Linked DNA regions of Homo sapiens: region 1 is linked to region 2. Evidence: promoter capture Hi-C in 16 types of primary human blood cells and fetal thymus (Javierre and others, 2016). All regions are on one chromosome and are shown on one strand. The core of a region is centred on a gene start or on the middle of the fragment in contact, and the rest is flanking DNA. Distances in the headings are between cores, read along the strand shown.

Evidence for each region. Contacts are between HindIII fragments. The CHiCAGO score rates a contact against its expected background, and 5 or more counts as called.
Region 1: a contact is called between a fragment that was not itself captured here and the fragment with the promoter of WWC2-AS1 in region 2, in 1 of 17 cell types (M2 macrophages). The highest score is 5.6, in M2 macrophages.

What each region holds. Positions count from the first base shown.
Region 1 is chr4:182,480,160-182,483,196 of GRCh38, reverse strand. The region is part of intron 3 of TENM3 (teneurin transmembrane protein 3); the gene reads right to left. Among named protein-coding and RNA genes, the nearest start is that of TENM3, 240 kb to the right of the region's middle. The HindIII fragment of the contact is 2,892 bases long and covers 96-2,987 here.
Region 2 is chr4:183,238,992-183,242,103 of GRCh38, reverse strand. It overlaps WWC2-AS1 (WWC2 antisense RNA 1), which reads left to right and starts at 1,470. Exons shown (of 2, transcript NR_126473.1): 1 at 1,470-1,580. It overlaps WWC2 (WW and C2 domain containing 2), which reads right to left. Exons shown (of 23, transcript NM_024949.6): 5 at 1,842-1,921. The HindIII fragment of the contact is 11,540 bases long and covers 1-3,112 here.

The DNA.
Region 1 (3,037 bases), core at 292-2,791, 760 kb after region 2:
AGCTAAAAATCTCAGCACTAGATAAAGCAAGAAAACAATTTTGTATTTTTGGCAACGCATATGAAACATGCATTAATGAGTTCTGCTTTAAAGCTTGAATATGAAATTGTGGTGATGATATGCTCCGTAAAGAAAAAAATAGCTGAAGAACAAACATGTTCTTTTTCTTTTCCTGTAAATATTCCTAAAGCAATATGAAAATTTGGGTAATATTCTTAATTTCAATGAAAACTTTAAGTATATGACATGTAGAGAGCTAAAACAAATCTAAAAGGAATCTGAAATCCAAAATTAATTCATATATTGAAGGTCTACACTCGTAACTGCTTCCTTGGATCTTTTTAATTTTAATGACCTCTTTTAAGTACACTGTGATATGTTACAAAGAAGGCATCTTATGGGAGAAGGCCATAAAAATAGACCATATTCCTGTGTAATACCTACCTACTGTTTCTGAAAAGAACTGACATGAATGCATACATCTCAAATAATGCAGGTGTGTCAGAGACAATGCTGTCTTGCCATGTACAAGACAATGCCTATGTGTAGACATTTTCACAGGTTAGCAAAATTATACTAAAATTGCAAAAGGTTAAGAAAGAAATTTTCTCATTTTATTTTCAATTTTTCTTGTATTCTAACCTACAGTGCAGTGAAGATTCTGTTCTGCAATGCCAAAATTTAATCATATTGATATATTCCACAATAATAGTTGCAGGATTACACTGAAGGGTAATTTTTTTAAAATCACAATTAGTGGTGGTACCTTCCACATTACATTCTGCCCATGTTATTAAAAGGCAAATAAAATCAATGTATGTATTATGTTCATAGGAACATACAAAAAATCTACAATATAGATATAAGCATATTAATAACTAGGTTTACTTTATCCTTATTTTGAAAGAAAAGGAACCATAAATTGAAAAGCATTATTGTAATTAAGCCAAACGTATTTATAGTAAAATAAGAGTTACCCTTCAAAACCTATTTTTCAGTGAGTGATTCTAGGTCAGCATGTCTCAATGAAAATCACTGAATTTACATTATTTTTATAAGTTATAGATACAATATTTAATAAAATTCAATGTATAATTGGTGGCTTTTGTTTTAGGTTCATAGGTAAAAACTGAAGTATAAGTTTAATTAACATTGCATTTAAATATACTCAATTAAGATACAGTATCTGCATTTACTTCAGTGTTGTGCACTGTCTAGAGAAATTTACTTCTTTGGTATGTCATATTTTGCCTTCCATTACAATAACCAGAAATGAAAGAAAGTAACAAAGAAAATATCACTTCTTAAATTTTGATATAAAGCAAAAAATCATTAAGTTATTGTTAGAAGTAAATTATAATTGTATTGTATTTTATTGTATTGAGTGAGTGATTGATTTTTGAGACAAGAGTCTCACTCTGTTGCCCAGGCTGCAGTGCAGTGGCACCATCTCGGCTCACTGAAACCCTTGCCTCCTGGGCTCAAACAATTCTCCTGCCTCAGCCTTCCCAGTAGCTGGGACTACAGGTGCACACAGCCATGCCTGGCTAATTTTGTGTATTTTAGTAGAGACGGGGTTTCACCGTGTTGCTCAGGCCGGTCGTGAACGCCTGAGCTCAGGCAATCCGTCTGCTTCGGCCTCCCAAAGTGCTGGGATTACAGGTGTGAGCCACCGTGCCCGGCCTATAATCATATTTTAAAGTAGAAAAATAATTTTAAAAAAATCTCAACGTAAGTGTAAAGGTGAGGATTTACCCTACTGAATAATGAATCTTTAAGCACAAAAGATTGTTTAAAACAGATAACTAACAGGAGCTATACTTATTTCATAAGAATTTCAGAAAAGTCAAGGTAAAGTAAAAGAGAAAATGAGGTGTCTTCTTTATTGTCACAAAGTTCAAGATAAAGAAAAGCGATTTAACTTTTAGGTTTATATCTGGACTTTCTCTTTAACTCCTTGTTTATTGTTACATTTAAATCTTGATTTAGAAATTAGTTTTTCAGTCTGTTTCTTTAAAAAATATATTTACGACTTGTTATAGAAACTCTCTTGGCCTCTCTCTGAATTATTTTTCAGAGTCTGTGTTACAAATTCTCAATTATTCACTTTGGCAAAATGCAATTTCTCAACTTCTAACCCCAAGCAATAGATAAGAGGATTATATTAAAAAAGAAAGAAAGAAAGAAAAGAAAACGACTCTTCAAATAGACTAGTATTTAACAGAAAAAAAGGAAACTCTCTCAACTACTTGTGCCTTTCAAACTCAATAAAATGACTCCGTATATCTCAAAATCAAATACCCAATTCTCTGTTCCCTGAAACAATTGCCTAAAAATATGTCAGTTCAGATTTGACATAATAAAACCATATTTTAGTCATTGACAGAAAATTCATATTGTGTCTAGAGATCCACCACATAAATTCAGAGTTAAAATACAAGAAGCCTAAGAAAATTTCATAAAATATCTATATGCTTTGATTTTTCAAAAAAAAGAAAAATTAAAATGATACAACCAATTGTTCATTAAATAGTACTGTTTTCAAAGATACAGAGTTCCAAATAGAATTAGAACCAAATTTTAACTTTTCATCTTTACGAAGACACTTTTTAAAATTAAATATATATGCATATATATGAATTTAAAGCAAATGTGTTAATATATTAGTTACTTAAGGCCTACAAGCAAACTTAAAAACTGTATTTCAAAAACAATTCTTTCACACTTTGGCAAAAGGAAATTGTGATTTTGAAAAACATCATTAGAAAACTGGCCTGCTGTGTTTCTAGGATATTTTAGCAAACAATTAACGATACCAAGAGCCTCCAGCAGCTATATTTGCAAAAGGCTTCAGTTTGAAAGACTGGGAGAGTGAAACTTAAGATATCTTGCTAAATTACTGTAAAATTCTAGACTCCACTCAAGATTTTACTTGTTAAATTATTATTATTGGTTTTATTTTTAGTGCCAATTTCACTAAGGAAGCTTAGCATGACCAAAATAAGTGAATCTTCCACACAGCTCAGAGAGATTAAAA
Region 2 (3,112 bases), core at 221-2,720:
CATATCTTTCTGCTCTCGGTTCAAGGGATTAGAATCATTCCAAGAGAATGCCTGAATTTCTACAACAAATGTCTATTGTTTTCTTGTGGAATGTTATTGACAGATTCTTAAACATGCCTTAGATTCCTATAAAAATTGCTTGCAAGCAAACTGCTTTGAAACAATACAGCATTGTTACATCAATATAACAAAGACAGCAAGTTTGGCTAACCTTTAATCCCAAATGGTGACGCGAGTTATAATTTCATGTGCCTTAAAAATGTGGAACATATGGCTAAACACGTTACGGCACTCTTCAAACTCTGTTTTCTCTCCCCACCCCCACCACGAAGCCCTGCTTTATGCTGATAAACAATTACTAAATAATGCATTTATGTCATTCTAGTTCTGCCTGGTTTATCGGGGAGCTCTGCAACCAGCTGAGGTTCTTACAACAGGGCTGGACTTGAGAAGCACTTGGGATCTCATAAAATATACCTGGCATAGAGACTAGAAACATTATTTTTCTAAGCACTCTCCAGATTATTCTAATATGCAGTCAGGTTTGAGAACCACTAGGATGGGAGCATCTGAAGGAGTATCAGGGTCATGATTCTATGCGGTAAGCAGGAAAAAAGGAGTCTGGATGATAACAGCACGTGTGAAATTAAAGTCATGCGTCTGACTGGTGGTCAAGAGCAGTGCCTGCGTATCCCAAGATATGACTAATCACCCAAACAAGAACAACCAGTTTGTTTATCTGGCCAGTGACACACAGGATCTTTAAAGGGGCTTGCTGCTTGGAGCATCCCAAATAAGAGCAGAAGGTAAAGTAAGATTCCACAGGGAAAAGGAACACAGCTGGGTACTTTCCACAGAGGTGGCGCCTGAGACCAGCTTGGCATTCCTGAGGTGCTACCACGGGAGATGCCGGGAAGAACACGAAACCTGCCTGAACACAAAACTGACCAGGGACATCCCTAAAAATACTGCACCGCACTTGGAGGCACCAAGCAGGAGGGAAGTTTTAACTCCTCTCCGTGGTCATGTGGCTGTGAAAACCATGGACTGCTTCTCTCCCATGAGAGGCCCTGTGGAGTGGAGACTGCAGGATTAGAAAGTCTCAGGTGTGCCTGTCACGGTTTGGATAGGCTGGGCCTCAGCAGCAGGGAGAACAGTGGCTTTCAGGGGCCGGGAATGCGGAAGGGATATCCTCATCCTGTGACCCTCTGTCACCTCCATTTCCACTTTACCTGGCCCAGCTTAGGGCTCTGCTAACGGCCCAGCCAACTTCAGTAGCAAACGGGAAAGGTAGAGGAACCAGGAAGTGAGGAGCGCACTCCCGCTCCTTTGCTAATAATCCTAACTTGCTCTTGCTCCCCTGCCATCTGTCAGGGTTAGACTCTAGGTCATCCCTGGGGCTGGCAGAGAGAGAGAGAGAGACAGACACGCCTCCACCCAAGGGCCCAGGGCAGCTGCAGGCTCACACAGGGGTCAAGTACAGCCAGCCCAGCCGAATGTGGAGAGGAATTTCTTGTGCCTAGTCTCTTAGCTCTGTACCACAATCTCAGAGGAGGCCAGCAAGGGTCCAGGAGATAAAGGTAAGACAAAGGCTTTTCACTTTGGTTTCTTTGGATCTCCAATGATTAATAAAAACTTTGGATCTTTTCAAGTGCATAGATCTTTCCCAAGTTTTTTTATCTGTTGGTTGATTGCTTTATTTTCTTTTGGTGTAGAGCTCTGAACTTTTTTACTTTACGTTTCTTTAAGAAATCGCTTATGTAATCTGTACTTCTATTTTCTTTGTATTCATACTAGTTAGGGAGCTTATTCTAAAGTTGATTCAGTCTTTTCATACTCACTGCTGCAATGTTTCAAAGCCTTGTTCTTTATAGAGCAGTTCCTGCTTCATCTGTGAGAGCTCTCTCTTTAGCTTTTTAACCTTTAAAGAGAAATCAACATAAACATTAATGTTTGCAGATAATTAGCAACACAGTCTACAGTTTTAAAAGATAATAAATTAGTAAACAAACACATAAACAAAGCCATGAGTTAAAGTAACATTTACTTTATCAGTTTCTCCTTCACATAAATTCTGTGGAAGGCATATTAATGATGTTTAAAACTATCAGTGATGTGTATTATTACTACTATTTACCTTCATTACCTTACTTAGCAACATTCTTATGAGCTGGACATCATCATTGTCTCCAACCAAAATGGGCAGAATAAGAACTCCAAGTCATGGCATCTCTATAAAAGTGTGTGTTTTTCCTTCATTCACTGTGCCAAGGGCCACTGCCCACCCCTCCGTTCCTCAGATGTCCTGGCAGTTCCTTCTGCCTGGAAAGCTCTCCCCAGATCTCCCGCAGTTGACTCCCTGTCCCTCCAATGCTAGCTGAAATGTTATCTTTTCAAATAGGACTTCTCTAGCCCCCCTGCCCCTGCCACGGCTCTGTTTTATTTAGACCAGAGTATTTTTCAGGAGCTGAAATTCTCCGTGTACACTGTCTGTCCTCCGTGGGAAAGTAAGCTGCAACCCACCAGCTGTATCCCAAGCATCTACAACCATGCCAAGCAAACAGCAGATGATCAATAAATATTTGTTGTCAAACTGATAAAATATATTTTTCCTGTTGTCAAATATATACTTTGGTAATAACAATTCTAAAATTGGACAGATCAGAAAAGCAGCACACGCCTGGTTTAGTCACAAACTAATAAAGGTCTTCTCACAAGGGTTAGAAACTTACTTCCATATATTAAGTTAGAGCCTTAAGTTTTTTTCTGTTGTTTGTTTGTTTTTTTTTTGAGACAGAGTCTTGCTCTGTCGACCAGGCTGGAGTGCGGTGGTGCAATCTCGGCTCACTGCAACTCCGCCTCCCGGGTTCAAGCGATTCTCATGCCTCAGCATCCAGAGTAGCTGGGATTACAGGCGCCCGCCACCACGCCTGGCTAGTTTTTGTGTTTTTAGTAGAGATGGGGTTTGACCATGTTGCCCAGGCTGGTCTCGAACTCCAGGGCTCAAGCGATCCACCCGCTTCGGCCTCCCAAAGTGCTGGGATTACAGGCGTGAGCCACCATGCCCAGCCAGAGCCTTAAGTTTTAAACACATTCTGTTGCGCAATATTTT